6 separate regions of the Homo sapiens genome follow, and all the other regions are linked to region 4. The links are contacts of gene promoters, found by promoter capture Hi-C in blood cells and fetal thymus (Javierre and others, 2016). All regions are on one chromosome and are shown on one strand. Each heading gives the region's core, a stretch centred on a gene start or on the middle of the fragment in contact. The rest is flanking DNA. Distances are from core to core; before and after follow the strand shown.

Region 1 (2,700 bases), core at 70-2,569, 1.4 Mb before region 4:
CTTTGACGATCCTTAAATCTTGGTCTCCAGCCTCAATTTCTCCCTTAAGCTCCAGACCCAGGGTTTGTGCACCTCCTGGACCTCGCTACTAGGCATCCACATTGGGCTTAGTATCTTCCCAACCTGCTTCTGGCGCCCAGTCTCCCGGCTAGAGGGGCCTGGTCCTAAACTTTTCTCCCCCTTCCACTCCATAGCCAGCCAGTGTCAGGGCCCGTTCGCTCTGCCTCCAGGGCGTCCCTCCCACCTGCACCTCCTTCCCTCCCCACAGTCCCTCCCTCGTGCAAACCCCCTCTTTCTTCCCCACCCCCTCCCCCAGCTGCCTCCCTGGACTCCCGATCCCGTTTCATTCCCTCCAATCCGCCCTCCATGTATAAGCCAGAGAGACATCTCTCCAAAACCCCAGACTCACCATGATCCTCCCCGGCTTGAAGCCCTTCACGGCTCCCTAGTGCCCTCGGGACAAGTCCAAACTCCCTCAAGTGGCCAAACAACTGGCCTCTGCTCGTTCCTCACCCCTCCCTGTCTTCAACTCGACCCTCCATCCCGACTGCCTCTCTAAGTGCCTGTAACAAGCCAGATCTCTGTCACCGAGAGCCTTCTGAACACAGGTCCCTCTGATTAGTTCACCCGGACCCAATACAGTTTGTGGAACGCACAGATCACAACCAAAGTCACAGCAACAACTCCCGTTTATTGACAGCCTCCTTGATCCTTAGCGCTTTCTGTGCATTCTCTTCCCACCCTAAAGGCTAGATCTCGCCTCGCCATTCCCATCGGAGAGAGCAAGCGGCAAGGCTGAGAACAGCGCGATGAGAAAGCCGAGCGCCCAGAAGCCCGAGTGCAGACGCCCACTGAGGACAGCCTTGGGTGAGGCGGGCCACCCAAGGGGCGGGGAAGAGGAGGCCTGGAACGCCTGAATCAGGAACTGTGACTTCGCTCGGGGCAGCTGGGGTGGACGCGCGCGAGCCTGCCCCCTGCGGGCCTGGAGGCCCAACCTCAGACTCCGCCGGGCCCGTTGCCCTGGGCAACGCCCCGCGCGCCCCGCCCCTTCCCCGCCCCCCAGCCCCAAACCCCAGGCCTGGCCGACTGCCCGTCACCCCCACGTCCGACCAATCCCGCCGAGGAGGGGGCGGGCCTCTTGGGCCCCGTTCCACCACCGTCGCTCCCCCCTCGCCGCGACCCCGCCTTACTCGGCTCACACCTCCCGCCCTTCGGGCTGCCCTCGCCGCCCGTTGGCTGGCGCGCCGTTCGTCACCCGGGCGTGAGCTAATGCCGGCGCGCGGCGGCCCCCGTCGGGGCGGGGCCAGGGGCGGTGACGCACGGCGCGGTGACGCAGCGCGACGGCGGCGGCGGCGGCGGCGGCGGTGGTCGGTGCGGGAGGAGGGAGGGGAGCTTGCGGGCCCGAGAGGGGGCGACGGCGGCGGCGGTGGCCTGAGGAGGCCCGAGCGGCGGCGGTGGCGGCGAAGGCCGAGGCGGTGAGTCTCGGGCCGGGCCGGCGCGGGGCGGCGGCGAGTCGGGGCGCGCGGGGCTCCCCTCAGGGCGACCCAGGCCGCGCGGGCGGCCCCGCCCCCTCAGGGACCCCGAACCGCGGGCGGCGGCGGCGGGCGGGTGCGGAACGCGGGCCTCGGGGGGCCGGGCCCCACGGGAGAAGCCCCGCGCCCGTCCCCAGTCTCCCTCCTGGGCCCTGGCCGAAGCTTCCCTCCGAAATCTTTCTCATGCCCTCGGGATTGCCGAGGGGCCGGGCCGGGGGCCTCTCCTCAGGACCCCCCGCACATCCCCCTCGGAGAGCCCCGGAAAGCCTGCCGATCCCCCGTGTGCGCCCTGAAAGGTCCCCGCAAAACCCACCCCTCCCGTGGAGTCGCCTCCTCGAGCCCTTCATGGGTCCCAGCAGCTTTCCTCGCAGACCCCCGCCCTTTGGCCCCGAAGCCCCCGTCCTCCTCCTGTCTCCAGAAATAGTCCTCGGAGGCCACTCCTCGTCCATTCCACAGCGTGGCTCTCATAGCTGCTCCAGGAGCCTCCCTCACGAGCCCTGCACACCTCCCCAAGGCTCCCTCCGGACCCCTGTCCATTCCAGAACTCTCCCCCGGAGCCCTGCCTCTCACAGCCCAACAGGCTCACCCGACTTCCCCCTCCCGGATCCTAAGAATTTTCCCTCCCACTTACCCCATTCCAGAAACCTCCTTGGAGATTTTCCGCTCATACCCCCTGCATTTCTGATTCCCCCTCCCAGAAGTCCTTCAGAATGCCCCCGACGGACCGTGATCATCTTCCCTGAAGATCTCCTTCCCATATCCCCAAAATAAATCTTCCTCACAGACTTTGTGAAATGCCCCCAGATCCCAAAAACTCACCTAGAAGACTCCATCCCCCTCCCCACCGTATTGCAACCATCTCTCATACACACTCCCCCTTCACGTATCCCTCTGGACCTTTCCACAGATCCCAAAAGTCTCCCCCAGAGGCCTCCTGTCTCCCCCTGGTCTCACCACCCTAAAATGCCCTAGAGATCACCCTCATGTAGCCCAGTGATCTTCACCGGGATCCCCTTCCCCACCCCCACTCATTCTAAAAATCTCCAGCAATTGCCTGAAATCTCCAGAGGACTCTCAGCATCATATTCCAAAAGCTTCTTCCAAAATCCCTTTTACATACTCCACATCTTTTCCAGTCCCCCACATCACACGCTCCAAAAATTGTTTA
Region 2 (2,700 bases), core at 1-2,500, 1.1 Mb after region 4:
CCGGCCGCTTTTTTTTTTTTTTTTTTTTTTTTTGAGGCAGAGTCTGACTCTGTCGCCCAGGCTGGAGTGCAGTGGCGCAATCTCAGCCCACTTCAACCTCCACCTCAAGCGATTCTTGTACCTCAGGCTCCCGAGTAGCTGGGATGACAGGCATGTGCTACCACACCCAGCTAATTTTTGTTTTAGTAGAGACAGGGTTTCGCCATGTTGGCCGGGCTGGTCTCGAACTCCTGACCTCAAGTGATCCACCATGCTTCGGCCTCCCAAAGTGCTGGGATTACAGGCATGAGCCACTTTATGCGTATTTAAGCCTTGGAAACACAGGGACTATCTTGTGGATTGGGGCTAGTACAGAATTCAGACTGCAGCCTTTTCCCGATGCGTTGACTTACAGAAGGGGCATTTTGGAGGGTCTGTGGTCCTAACCTGGGGATAGCAGGGAGATCCCGGGGCAATGACAGAGAGGCACAGAGACACGGATTTCCTGAGAAAGGGAGAGGAGAGAGGCTGAGACCCAGGGATCATGAAGGGGACGAGCAAGGGAAGGAAGAGATGATGAGACCCTGGGAATCCGGGAGAGAGACAGGGACGTGGAGAGAAAGGGACAGAGAGAGAGCGAGAAGGAAAGGAAGAGACAGAAGGGAGAAGGGGCAACCGAAAATGGGCACGAAGAGGCCCAGGCACAGCAACAGCTGGGGAAATGACAGAGACTGAGACGGAGATGCAGAAAGATACAGAGAGAGCTGGAGAGGGTAGAGAAGGGCTTTCGGGGAGAAAGTGATGGAGGGACAGAGAGGAGAGGTGGAGGCCAAGGAGGGAAAGACCCCAGTAGAGAAAGACAGAGGGACAGAGAAGGGGATGCAGACGCAGGCGGGAGCACACCCACAGAGGCGAAGGAAGGGCGCAAGACCATGAGAACCACAGACGCGGAAAGCCGGGGAGGTCGTGGCTCGGTCTAGGGCGCACGGGGAGCAGGGCTTGCCCCCCAGCACCTCCGGGGAGGTGACCCCAGCCGGGAGATGCGAGTCCCGCGGAGCCCGCGCCCGGCGGACGGACCGATGGACAAAGCCGGGGAGAGCTCGGGCGCGGCCGGGGCGGGGGCCGGTGCCCGCAGGGACCCGGGCGCAGCGGGGAAAGGAGGGGCGGGCAAGCGGCGAGAAGGGGAAGGAAGCGGAGGTGCCGGGCGGGCGCGGGGCGCGGGCAGGAAGCGGGGAGGGGCGGCGGGGCGGGGGCCTCCGGAAAAACGCCCCGACTTCCTGCCCCGCCAGAGCCAGGAAGCGGGAGCCGGGACCCAGGGCCCGGGATCGCCGAGCCCGACCTCGGGCGCCCCGCCGGTCACCTCCGCGCGGACACCAGGTACTCGGTCCCCGGCCCCGCCCGGCCTCCTCCCCTCGGCTGTTGGGGGAAGTGGGGAGGAGGAGGGAGGGGCTGGGGCGCTGCCGGCAGCGGAGGGGCCCCCTTCGGACCCCACGGAACCAGCGGCCGCCCCTCCTTGGGCCTCAGTTTTCCCATCTGTCAAAGGGAGCAAAGAGGGGAGAACTCACACTTGACGAGTGCCCCATAGGTGGGGACGAACGGTGCGAGGCCGGGGCCAAGGCCTCCCACCTGCTCAGTGGAGAACGGACGATCACTACCATTGTACGGGTGGGGAAACCGAGGCCCGGGGAGCCAAACCGACTCGTCCCAGGGAACGCACATCGTGAGAAAGTGTGGAGTTGGGATTTGAACTCGCACGTGCTTTCCGCAAAGCGCCATCCTCCAACCCCCGCATGCTTTAGGGCCACCTAAAAATGAAAAACAACAATAACAACAACGACGAGGGTCGCTGTGAAGCTGAAAGTTGCAGAGTGCATTTGAAAGAGTTTTCGGAAAGCTCTTTTCTAGGTCATTAATTATACCGTGAGAGACAGGTGTAGGGAGAGAGCTGGAGGCCTTCTCCCATTGTACGGATGGGAAGACTGAGGTCTACAGAGAAGTCATTACTTTTTGCAGATTACACTGCATGTCAGAGGGAAAGTTGTGCTGGAACTCAAGACTATTGCTTTTCCGGTTCCAAAGGAAGGGGCTGGGGGTGGGAGACGGAGGGGATTGATGTACGAGGATTGGAAATTCAGCGGGTCCCCTAAGTGGGGAGACTAATAGGACGGGGAGCCCCAGTCCGCCGTCCGAGTGCTCAGCGCTGGGGTGACTAGGAGATCTCCGATCGAACTCGGGAGGAGTTGGACCCATCTGCACCTCCGGGCGCGGGGCGGGGCCCGGGGAGTGACGGGGGCAGTCGAGATACGGAAACGCTGGCCCTCCAAGACAGGCCAGAGCGGCCCTATCTGGCCTGCGTGGCGCAGTACAGCGCTAGAGCGGCCGGCGGGAGGAGTAGAGTCGTCGGGGCCGGAGCCCGGCAGGAGCCGGGCTAGAGCGGCTGGCAGGAGGAGTGGAGCTGGGCGCAAAGGTGGACTCAGGGCGGCTAGAGCGACGCGGCGGCAGGGGTGGGGAGAGTGCGGAGCCCGAGCGCGGAGGCTTCGGTTCCGGTGGCGGCGATGGCTTCTCTTTCCACCTGGAGCAGGTGAGGGACGCGGTCCCCAGCGGGTGTCAGACCCTGACTCTGCACGTCCTCCCCGGCATCCCTGGCCGTGCACACTGCCACGTCCCCCGTAGGATTTAGGGCCCGCGTAAGACCCGCCACGTCCATGTAAGATTTGGGTC
Region 3 (2,700 bases), core at 77-2,576, 1.5 Mb after region 4:
GGGGATGGGGTGGGGTGGGTGGGCCGGTCGGGGCACACACCCGCACACAGGAGCCCGAGCCGCCGCCGCCGCCGCCGCCGCCGCCGGGGGAAGGAAACAAGTTTGAACAGCGGCGCCCGGCCCCCTTCCCCCTCCCCCGTCCCCGCCCCGGGCCGGATTCCGACGGGGTAGACGGGCAGGGGGCGGCTGGGACCCCTCCCCCTGCGCGCTCGGGCGCAAAGTCCAGCCCGCGCGAGCCCGGGGGCGGCGGGGGAGGGGAGGGGGAAAAGTCCGAGTGGGAGGGGGAGTTAATCCCGCTGCCCCCCGCCCGCCGACCGAGGGGGAGGGGAACCTTGGCCCCTTAAGGAGGAGCAAGTTGGCGGGGAAGAGAGGGGCGGAGGGAAGAGACGGCCCGCTGAAAGAGAAGAGGTGGATCCGGGAGGGGGGGCGAGGGGGGAGCCTCTGCGTCTCCCCCCACCTTCCCCACCCTCCTCAACCCCGGGCCACCGGTGGCGCGGGAGGAGGGTACCCAGGTCTCCCCGGAGCCACCTTAAAGCCGCGCGTTCTAAGGTCGGAAACAAAAAGTTCCTTTTTCGAACGTTCGGGCTGCGCTTTGGAACTTTGCGACTCGGCGAGGGCGGGGGAGCGAGGAGCCGACAGAGGCGGGCGGGGGAGGGGCGGCGCAGCCAGGACCCCGAGTCCCGGGCTCCCCACTCACGCCCTCCTCCTAGAGGCCATCCCGTATCCCCCGCTAACCTGGTGCAGGGCACGCGCCGCCGTGAAGGTCACCAGCAGGACCGCGCAGCGCAGAACCAGGGATAGCGGGCCCGGTGGACGAGCCCCCCCGCCCCGCACACGTCCCGGCCCCCAGAGTGCAACGTGACAAGAGCGGAGGGGAAGGACCCCGCCACCCCCGTGATCCCGGGAGTGGGGGAGAGCCCGGCCTGCGGGGTCCCGGTAGGGATACAGGACCAAGACCCGCAGCACCCACACCACTCCGCCCGGAGCCAGGAATCGGGGGTCCCAGGCAGCAACCCCGCTCGCGCCACGAGAAGCAACAGGTCTCCAGTGCTTGAGGGGTCCCCCAGAACTGGGGATCACTCGGGCTCCCCCGGACCCCTTCAGCCCCCCCAAAGTTTCTCCGTTCGGTTTCCCGGGGCAACAAGTCTCCCCCACACGTGCTGCCCCCGCCCCCACCTGTGTCCGCCGGGGTCTTCATGCTGGGGGGCCCGGGGCGAAGCGCCCCGATTCCGGGCCGCGGCTCCCGGCGCCCTCGCTGCCCCGTCCCGTCCCGCGCCCGTCGGGCCGCCCTCGCCGCCTCACCCGGCCTCGCCTCTCAGAGCCTCTCCCCTCCCCGCCGCCGCCTCCCGGGTTAATATCGCACTCCGGGGCCGGGACGCCCACGCCCCCCGGCCGGCGACGTCACCGCCGCGTCGCCATGGAGACACTGCGCCCGCCCCCTCCCCGCGCACTCACACACACGCTCGTCGGCGCGCAGCCACTGAGGACCGGCCGGCTCTGGGCTTAAAGGGGCCGCGCGGCGGGGGAGGGAGGAAGGAGGGGGTGGGGGTGGGATGGGGTCCCGCGGGTCATGACCCTAGTCAGAGGCTCCGAGTCTGCAGCTAACTTAAGTCTTCGGCACTCGCTACCTGCTGCCCCTCCTCCTCTCCTGCCCACTGCGGGCTCCAGAGTTTCTTTTGGGAGCCTGTATGGGAAAACGGGGGGCCCTTCCGAGGAAGCGGGGGTCAGAAACTTTTGTGGGGAGGGGGCAGAATCTTCTCTGCAGAGGGGCGGGGTCAGGACCTTAGAAGATGATGAAGACCACAGCATTTCCCAGCTTGGTTTTACCCAACCCCCCAACCCTGAGCCTGAATGGGGGCAGCTGTCCAGGGGTGGGGTGGAATGGGTGGGATGCATTTCCCAGCATCGGAAATGGGGAGGCGGCTGTGCCCTCCGCTCCTGTGGGGATGGGGTCTTGGCTTCCCTGATAACCCCCGTCCAGCTGGGGAGGAAGTGACCAGAGAGAATGCATTTGGAAGCCCCCACCACCACCGTCCCCAGGCTGCAGCTGTCCCGGGGATAGGGCTGGCGCCGGAGGTCCCCCCACGTCCACTACTAGGACCGGGGGTTCCGGAGGCGGGGCCGGGATACGAGGGGGCGACCAAAGTCTGAACAAATGTGCTCCCAAGGGGCACTGAGGGTCGCCAGGAGAGAGGAAGACAGGGCTTAAGATCGAAAGCCAGAGCGTAGAGAAGTGTTAAGTCTCCGTTCTCTGCCTCAGCCGGGAGGGAAGGATGAAGCCTGAGGCTCTGGGAAACAGGAAATCACAGCGCAGATCTGATGGAGCCCAGGAGCCGGCAGCAGGGTAGAGGCCAAATAGAAGCAATATTCACAGGCATAGCCTGGAAACAGAGTCTCAAAAAAGACTCTGAGGTTCCGAAGGAGGGGCGTATGGGTGGCGGGCGGGAGTTGGGGGGGCTGGGTGGGGGACGAATCCAGAAGATGGGCGGGGAGACAGAAAAGTCACAGATAGGGAAGGCCTGCGGAGCTCAGGCTCCCGGTACCCAGGGCTTCAATCCCAGCCTCCTCGCTTGCGGGGTACCTAGTCCACCTTAGACAGGCTCCTCACCAGTGCCTAAAAAAAAAAGTCTCAGGCCTCCTCCTTGGGGAGACCAAGGGCTCCAGGGAAGCTTTCCCCCACAACCCCCGGGAATTATGTAA
Region 4 (2,500 bases), core at 1-2,500:
GTGATCCACCCGCCTCGGCCTCCCAAAGTGCTGGGATTACATGCATGAGCCAAAGCACCCGGACTGGACTGGGCACTTGTGAGGACAGCTTTCTTCATTGCTGGAGGCACACCACCATGGAAGAGATCTAGGTGGGGGACCTAAGTAGTCAGCCTGTTTGATCTTGAGGACACGGGAACCCCCCCCCCACCCCAAGAGATCTGTGAAGTGTCTAGGGCAGAGCCTGGGTGGTGGGTGGGGCATGGAGACCCTACCGGTCCTTGTGTAGTTTCAGAAGCCTCTTCACATCTTCTCTGCCCTTGGGGACCGGGCCGGCCTTATCAAAGGCCTCCTTCAGGAGCTGGCTCTTCTCCAGGCCGAAGACATGACGGGGAGCAGGCCCTGTGGCAGCGGGTGGAGGAGGCAGTGGGAGCGGTGGGGGAACAGGGGTCTGCTGACTCCAGGGAGGGGATGGTAAAGCTGAAAAGTCCAGGGGACTTGGGGGTAGAGGAGGAGATGGAATGCTGCTGGCTTGGGGTACAGGGGTTTTTGGAGGAGAAATTGGTGGTTTTAGGGGAGGAGAGCATGGAGAAGTCATTTTGGGGTCTACAGGAGGTGTTGAGAGGTTCAGAAAGCGGGGAGGGAAGGATCCTCCAACGGAGAACGGTCTCAGGGATGGAGATTTTAAAGGTTTAAGAGCTGAGTTCCAGAATCTGGGGACTGAGCAGTGGGTGTGAAAGGACCAGGGCTAATATTTGAAACCACGGGAGCAGGAATTGCGAGGCTGACTCAAGTCATAAGGCACCTGACGGTTAACAGGGTGGGGTCCTTAAATCCGGAACCGGATCTGTGGTACCGGTTGGGTTACCTCGGGAGTCTTAGGTGGAGAGTTAGTAGGAGTTAACTCATTCTTTGGGGCTGGATGTGGAAACTCATGAGTGAGTTTGGGATATGAAGGCTCAGATCTAGAGTGAGGTGCCTTAAGGATGCGACTTAGGGACCCAGGGCTAAAGATTCGGAGAACTTAGGTTCAGTACCCCCTCACATCCCAGGCCCGAGTTCGGAACCTTTGAGCTGACCTTTGAGTCAGAGGTCAAGAGGTCAAAAAGGACACCTGGCAGGGAAAATGGCCTAGTTGTGGAGAAGGTCCTGGAACCAGAGCAACAAAAAACGTCTGTGGGTTGGAGAAGACTCAGAGATCAGAGGCCGGTGGGCGCCGCGATAACCACTGGAAAAAGGAAAGGAGTCAGGAAGTAAAGTGCACCTCCCACTCCCGGAAAATGGCGGCCCCCGCACACTGCCTTTCCCATATCACGTGGTATTACACGCAACAGTTCCCGCCCATTTTGCGATCACGTGACAGAAAACGCAGCTCTGGCGGGGGTAAGAGGCGGGACTCCAAAAAGGATTGCCTCCGGAAGACACCGCAGCGCGAGACGCGTACAGACTCGTGACCTTCACTGATTGGTCCGTAGACCCGGGCGCCACGGAAGGAGGTGGGCTTTCAGGGAGTGGGGCGGGGTTTTTCTACCTAGGCGGGAACCCAAATATCGTTTTGATTGGCAACAGCTGAGCCCAGAAACGAGACTTGCTCTGATTGGTCAAGCTACTGCGTTTCCGCGCGGCGATTGGCTGGCAGAAAGGCAGAGGCGGGGCCAGGAGAGAAAGCTTTGTGGTTTGGTCTCAGGGAAGTAGCAGGCGCCGGTTGAGAGAACTACGGCCCTGTCGGAAGGTAACCTCCGGTGCAAACGACCATCGGCGGCAGGCGAGCGGTACGCTTGGCGTCCGGGCCTTCCTGGGCCCGTCTGAGGAAACTTGCTGCTCGAGGCCAGGCTGCCTAGGACCTGTCCCTTTTTTCTATACTGGCTCCCACATCCGGGTTTTTTCTCCGGGACGGCCCTTCGGATGCTTGGGCCAATGGGAATCGCCATTTAGGGTGCTCCGCCCACCGGGTCGCGTAGAGCATCCTGGAAGTCGTAGTAAATCTCTCGAGAGTTCTCTCCGCACGCGGGCTGGAGAAGCGGGTCCTACGCACGCTTTGTTGTCGCGCTTTGCCTCCGTCCTTGCCCCTACTCCCGCCTTACCTGACTTCCTTTTCGGAGGAAGATCCTTGAGCAGCCGACGTTGGGACAAAGGATTTGGAGAAACCCAGGGCTAAAGTCACGTTTTTCCTCCTTTAAGACTTACCTCAACACTTCACTCCATGGCAGTTCCCGAGACCCGCCCTAACCACACTATTTATATCAACAACCTCAATGAGAAGATCAAGAAGGATGGTGAGTTCTCGGGATAGTCCGGAGTCCAGACTGTCCCGCACGGGCTGGCCCCTCTTCCGTCCCCTGCACCCGCCTCTCTTTCTAAGTGTTTGTCCAGCCAAACTTCGAGTTAACTCCTTGGCCTTTACACAAACTACTTCCTGTCTTCAACACTCCATTAGTTCATCTTACACTCTGCCCTTTAACGTGGTCACTGCTGCTCATCTTACAAGGTTTGAGGTCACAGGACCCTTCCTCCAGGAAGC
Region 5 (2,700 bases), core at 45-2,544, 1.1 Mb after region 4:
TTAGAAACAGTATGAGATAGGTTTCAACAACATTCTACATGAATGTAAAACCTTGATTTAAATATATGATCTTATGCTAGAAGCATGGTTGGTTTTAATTTTTCTAACAGATACGAGTCTTGGCTTATTAATAATTAACACATTTTGCAGCCACAGTATCAGTGTGGGGTAAAATTCTAATATTTGCTCTTATGTTTTAAATTCTCAGTCTTTCCAACATAAGAAAATAGCTACACACATTTCAGTGTTTCCTTTTTGCAACAAGTTAACATAATTTTATTGGACCACGTTATTTAGTTGTTGGGCCTTGTAAGGATTAAATGAGATCATGCATGTAACACTACAGTAACAGCCACATGATAAATGTCCAAATAATATTTACCTGTGCCTGGCACAGAGCAGGCACTCAAAAAATATTTTTTAGAGCATGTGACGCGCCATGAACCAGAGGAGCCACTTTAAATGGACAAACGGGGATCTCATTTTTTTTTTTTTTTTTTAATGGTGAGACAAGCCCTGAGAAGGCAAATGGACTGCCTAAAGCTACACAGGTCAGCGGGGCAGGTAAATCTAAATTGGCAAAGTAAGGGCTGAGCGAACAGACTCCGACACTAGAAGGCAGAGCTGAACTAACTTCTGCTAAGGTCCCGCCTCTGCCGCTTTGTCCCGCCCTTATCTTCTCCCCTCCTCCAGCGCCTCATTCCCTTTTCGCTCGCCCCGGCCGTGCTGAAGCAACTTCCGCCCTGAGAAGGGTGGGGCTTCCGTCTCCCGCTCTCGCGACTCCTGGCGGTGAAGGACGGAAGATGATAGCCACATTTCTTCCTCGCCCTTCCCCTAGGTTCCCTGTCACAGTTCCGCCCTTACTACTCCCACTTCCGGCCAGGGAACAGCCACTTCCACCCGGAAAAGGGGTTGTTCCGCCGTGGGGCGCCAGCTGTGGCCCACCCATCCTGCCCCGTACTTTCGCCATCATAGTATTCTCCACCACTGTTCCTTCCAGCCACGAACGACGCAAACGAAGCCAAGTTCCCCCAGCTCCGAACAGGAGCTCTCTATCCTCTCTCTATTACACTCCGGGAGAAGGAAACGCGGGAGGAAACCCAGGCCTCCACGCGCGACCCCTTGGCCCTCCCCTTTACCTCTCCACCCCTCACTAGACACCCTCCCCTCTAGGCGGGGACGAACTTTCGCCCTGAGAGAGGCGGAGCCTCAGCGTCTACCCTCGCTCTCGCGAGCTTTCGGAACTCTCGCGAGACCCTACGCCCGACTTGTGCGCCCGGGAAACCCCGTCGTTCCCTTTCCCCTGGCTGGCAGCGCGGAGGCCGCACGGTAAGCGGGGGCTCCGAGCTGGACCGGGCGCGAGGCGGCAGGGCCGGACGCCGAAGCCTCAGAGCGCGTGCCTGAGGGCCCCGAGGCGCCCGGCGCGGGCCCGTCCCGCCCCCTAGAGCCGCGGCCACGTGCGAGCGGCAGGCCCGGACATGCCCGGTCAGCGCCGTCCGGGAACCGAGCGTGGGCCCCGGGGGGCAGCGGCGGGGTGCGTGGGGCGTCCGGAGTCCCGGGGCTGGGGAGTGGGGTCGCGCAGGATCCTCACACGCAGGGGCCGGGCTCTGTTAGTGCGATCCAGAGAGGCCGTGGGCGTCGGTGAGCTCCTTCAGACCCGCAGGAGCCGGAGCCCGGCGTTGAAGGGGCCGTGGGAAGTAACGGGGGGTACCACGGTTTAGGATGCGCTGGAGCGAAAGGATTGGGGTGGGGTCCGTGCTCTTGGCAGTCGTCTCTGCCAGGCCTGTGTTCACATGCTTGACTTTCTCCCTCAGATGCCTGGAGTTACTGTAAAAGACGTGAACCAGCAGGAGTTCGTCAGAGCTCTGGCAGCCTTCCTCAAAAAGTGAGTTTGGGGACTGAGGTTCAAAACGGGTGGAGGCTGTCGCCTTGGCCTGCCCATCTGAGCCCCAGTGTTTGCCGGTCCCTGGCAGGCGAGGCTTGTTTGGGGCCTCCGTGGCTCCTTTCAGCGTGAGGCCTGGCTTGTGTTCCGGTTCCAGCCTCTCTTTGTACTCTGGGCACAGCATAGTTGTGTTGAGGGGAGGGCATTTGGGATATGGGGTAGTTTGTGGAGATGACTGAATCGTGCTTTTCCCACTGTTTTGGTCTTAGGTCCGGGAAGCTGAAAGTCCCCGAATGGGTGGATACCGTCAAGCTGGCCAAGCACAAAGAGCTTGCTCCCTACGATGAGAACTGGTTCTACACGCGAGCTGGTGAGGAACTTAGGTCTTTGGCTGGAGAGTGGGGAGCTGGGTGACCCCTGGCACAAACCATACTTCCCTGTCTCCTCTGAGCTCTTTCCCGCCCCAAGAGGGAGAGAAACCCTTGGTTGTGTCACCACTTGCTTTGTGTGATGTGACATTCGATAACTTGGTACTCCAAGTTTTTATGACATTCTAAGAGCTTTGTGAGAGGAGGACCTGTGGCTTTGAGCCTCAGGGGAAACCAGAGACAGATGAATGTTCATATTTTGCTTACAGGTGGTTTAATCCTTTCTATATACACGGAGGCAGACTCCCTGGGTTTGGATCCATCTTTTACATCTGGCTGTGTGTCCTCTGGCAAGTTGGTTAACCTGCCTGTGCACTCTCTCATCCCCAAAATGGGACTAATTATTGTACCAGTACTAGAGTATTGCAAGGATTGAATGAATTTAAAGCA
Region 6 (2,700 bases), core at 30-2,529, 1.4 Mb before region 4:
AGAGGCGGAGCTTCTCTGGGGAGGAACTCAGAATGAAGTGTCCCCCATGGCAGAGTCTGAAAGCTGGCTCCCCAGTGGGAAGGGACTTGGACACTGCTTGCTCCATTAACAATTGAGCAGCTACTACTATGTGCTAGGGTAGGTACTGTGCTAGGCCCTGAGCAGACAGCAGCCAACGAGACAAGCAGTCCCTGCCTTCAAGGAACTCATACCTGAGTAGTTTTCCCATTCCTTAGTCTCACCTGTTCTGGTCGAAGGGGTAGGTGATGAACTTGGGGTCGAAGGGGATATCAGGGAGGCTATTGCAGTACTTGACTCGGCAGACCACTCCAGACCTAGGAACATTAGTGGCTCAAAAGTGGGCCCCCGCTGCCCCACCTCTGCTCCCAGCCCCACTGCCCCACCGCTCCTGGGAAAGCACAGTGGGGCTCACCTCTCAGGCAGAGTCCGGTGGGAATTGGGCCTAGTGGAGAAGAAAGAAACAGTGATAGGTGGAGAGGACGGGATTGACAGGAGAATGAAAAAGGCTTCCCCAACCTTTCAAAAGGTAGGAGGGGTGACAAATGCTGGTTTCTTTGGGTGGTGGTGTGGGGAGTGTCCAAATGCTTTAATGGAAGGAGACAAATGTTCAATTTATTTAGGAAGAAATGCCCCCAAAAGCTTTAATGAACAAGGCCAAGTGCTCAATCCCTTTTGCAGGAGATGGCTTCAAGTGCTTTAATAAAGAACCATGTACTCAATCGTCTTCGGAAGAGGGGTCTCCAAACGGTTGACTGGAGGGATCCCTTCTGGAGGGAGTCTCCAAAAGCCTAATCCCTGAACTGCACGGCGGGGAGGAGGGGAACACCTGAATCTCAGAAGGAACCCGCCCCCTTCGTCAAAGGTGAGCGCTTCATGACGTCACGGGCAGACCTGGGGGCTGGTGACGTTGTTCAGCAGAAACCCTCTCCCGATCCCCCGCCTTGCTGCAACAGAAAAGCGTGGCGCCTACCTGTGGCCATCCTCCCGCTGGGCCTGGGTCTGGATGGTGGGCGCCATAGCGACGAGGCGACGGCAGCCCGGACGGGGTCCTAGCGGGACCGAAGGGGGACGCAGAGGGGCGTGCCGACTTCAGGGGACGCCTGATCCGAGGAAGGCCCAGCTTGGCGCCGCTCCCCGCGGAAAGTGGGTTGAGATGAGGTGGGCGGGCGAGAAGAGCTCCAGCGAGACTCAGGTGAACGCGCAGGCAGCACCGGGGACGGACTCGAAGCTCCGGTTCCACCAACTGCCGCCAAGACGCTGAGGACCCAACGGGTCTCCTCAGGCCGCGACGCCTTCGGGGAAATGAAGTCCGGCTCGGAACCACACACGGATTGGCGAGCGTCTGGGTGAAGGGCGGAGCGAGGGAGAGAGGTGCTTCTGTGATTGGTGGAGAGATATCTCAGTCTGGACGCAGATTTGAGAGTGACGTAACGTTGGGGCACCTCCTTCCCCTCCATTGGCTTAATTGCCTAGGGGGCGGGACTAACTAGCAAACGGGGACTAGAAATAGGGATGCTGAAAAGCAACGGGGAGAGACGCAGTCGTAACGCACTTCCGGCGGTCTACGCGAGGAAGATGGCTGCATCCCAGCAGCAAGCTTCAGCGGCTTCCTCAGCTGCTGGTGTATCGGGTCCTAGTTCGGCTGGCGGCCCGGGTCCCCAGCAGCAGCCGCAACCGCCAGCACAACTGGTGGGCCCTGCCCAGAGCGGCCTCCTGCAGCAACAGCAACAGGACTTCGATCCTGTGCAGCGTTATAAGATGCTCATCCCGCAGCTGAAGGAGAGTCTACAGGTGATTGGCCTTAAGCAGCGAGAAGCAAACTGGATTTGGTAGTCTAGAGGGGCAGGCCGAGGGCCAGGTTAGTCGGAGAGAGCGCTAAGCAGAAAGAGGAATAGAACCTGCTGTTTTGGCCTGGCTGGTGCACGCCTGTGTTCCCAGCACTTTGGGAGGCCGAGGCGGGCGGATCACTTGAGGTCAGGAGTTCAAGACCAGCCTGGTGAAACCTCGTCTCTACTAAAAATACAAAAATTAGCCGGGCATGGTGGCGCGCGCCTGTAATTACAGCTACTCGGGAAGCTGAGGCAGGAGAATCGCTTGAACCCAGGAGGCGGAGGTTGCAGTGAGCCGACATCGTGCCATTGCACTCCAGCCTGGGCAACAGAGCGAGACTCCGTCAAAAAAATAAATAAATAAATAAATAAAACTGTTGTTTTCTGCGAGACCTAAGCGAAGCTCGGCAGAGATGGGATCAGCGCTGATGCTGAGGCTGGGACTGGCCGGAGCTTGAGTGAGGGGTTGTTTAAAGGAGAAACTGGGCTCTGGTCGTTAAAGCCTGAGGAGAGTACTGGCTTATACGGAGATTCTGCCCTTGATTGATAGGTGAGGGAGGACCCTTAGGTTATTGGCGAGAAGCTCAGGTGAGAGCGGGCCTCTGGGAGGATGGAGTGGTGACAGCTATAGGAATGGAAACGAATATTACTTTGGAAAGTCAGGAGGGAAGGTGCCAGTTGAAAAGAAAACCTGAGACTGAGTGATCTCAAGAAAGAGTGTAGATCTGCCAGAGGTATTCCCTTTTGTTTTTCCATTTCCCACGTGTTTTGTTTTTGTTTTGACTAGACCTTGATGAAGGTTGCGGCCCAAAACTTGATTCAGAACACTAACATCGACAATGGACAGTGA

What was found. The method cuts DNA at HindIII sites, captures the fragments that hold promoters and counts their contacts. A CHiCAGO score of 5 or more calls a contact.
Region 1: the fragment with the promoter of SAMD4B here is called in contact with the fragment with the promoter of ACTMAP in region 4 in 1 of 17 cell types (naive CD4 T cells); the score reaches 5.4 in naive CD4 T cells.
Region 2: the fragment with the promoter of ARHGEF1 here is called in contact with the fragment with the promoter of ACTMAP in region 4 in 1 of 17 cell types (naive CD4 T cells); the score reaches 5.1 in naive CD4 T cells.
Region 3: the fragment with the promoter of ERF here is called in contact with the fragment with the promoter of ACTMAP in region 4 in 2 of 17 cell types (fetal thymus and total CD8 T cells); the score reaches 6.2 in fetal thymus.
Region 5: a contact is called between the fragment with the promoter of RPS19 here and the fragment with the promoter of ACTMAP in region 4, in 3 of 17 cell types (naive CD4 T cells, total B cells and naive CD8 T cells). The highest score is 6.6, in naive CD4 T cells.
Region 6: a contact is called between the fragment with the promoter of PAF1 here and the fragment with the promoter of ACTMAP in region 4, in 1 of 17 cell types (fetal thymus). The highest score is 5.8, in fetal thymus.

What each region holds. Positions count from the first base shown.
Region 1 is chr19:39,341,102-39,343,801 of GRCh38, forward strand. It overlaps SAMD4B (sterile alpha motif domain containing 4B), which reads left to right and starts at 1,320. Exons shown (of 14, transcript NM_001384574.2): 1 at 1,320-1,475. RefSeq lists a silencer at 1,009-1,438. The HindIII fragment of the contact is 6,593 bases long and covers 1-1,692 here.
Region 2 is chr19:41,881,934-41,884,633 of GRCh38, forward strand. ARHGEF1 (Rho guanine nucleotide exchange factor 1) reads left to right here and starts at 1,251. Exons shown (of 29, transcript NM_004706.4): 1 at 1,251-1,356. RefSeq lists silencers at 936-1,445, 2,310-2,459 and an enhancer at 2,326-2,535. The HindIII fragment of the contact is 8,882 bases long and covers 1-2,700 here.
Region 3 is chr19:42,253,802-42,256,501 of GRCh38, forward strand. It overlaps ERF (ETS2 repressor factor), which reads right to left and starts at 1,327. Exons shown (of 4, transcript NM_006494.4): 1 at 1,177-1,327. The coding sequence starts at 1,198. RefSeq lists silencers at 1-48, 69-188, 279-348, 429-1,118, 1,129-1,528 and enhancers at 884-1,383, 2,024-2,555. The HindIII fragment of the contact is 3,576 bases long and covers 1-2,667 here.
Region 4 is chr19:40,749,227-40,751,726 of GRCh38, forward strand. It overlaps ACTMAP (actin maturation protease), which reads right to left and starts at 1,251. Exons shown (of 6, transcript NM_198476.5): 1 at 255-1,251. The coding sequence starts at 577. It overlaps SNRPA (small nuclear ribonucleoprotein polypeptide A), which reads left to right and starts at 1,977. Exons shown (of 6, transcript NM_004596.5): 1 at 1,977-2,255. The coding sequence starts at 2,183. RefSeq lists enhancers at 702-1,327, 1,019-1,258, 1,799-1,868, 1,956-2,500 and silencers at 1,459-1,598, 1,863-2,045. The HindIII fragment of the contact is 2,474 bases long and covers 1-1,645 here.
Region 5 is chr19:41,858,961-41,861,660 of GRCh38, forward strand. It overlaps RPS19 (ribosomal protein S19), which reads left to right and starts at 1,295. Exons shown (of 6, transcript NM_001022.4): 1 at 1,295-1,329; 2 at 1,815-1,885; 3 at 2,152-2,252. The coding sequence starts at 1,815. RefSeq lists an enhancer at 998-1,753 and silencers at 1,307-1,436, 1,497-1,616. The HindIII fragment of the contact is 18,374 bases long and covers 1-2,700 here.
Region 6 is chr19:39,389,827-39,392,526 of GRCh38, forward strand. It overlaps PAF1 (PAF1 component of Paf1/RNA polymerase II complex), which reads right to left and starts at 1,280. Exons shown (of 14, transcript NM_019088.4): 1 at 992-1,280; 2 at 434-463; 3 at 243-335. The coding sequence starts at 1,038. MED29 (mediator complex subunit 29) reads left to right here and starts at 1,552. Exons shown (of 4, transcript NM_017592.4): 1 at 1,552-1,812; 2 at 2,638-2,696. The coding sequence starts at 1,597. It also overlaps a transcript of SAMD4B not described here. RefSeq lists a silencer at 1-69 and an enhancer at 1,607-1,896. The HindIII fragment of the contact is 958 bases long and covers 659-1,616 here.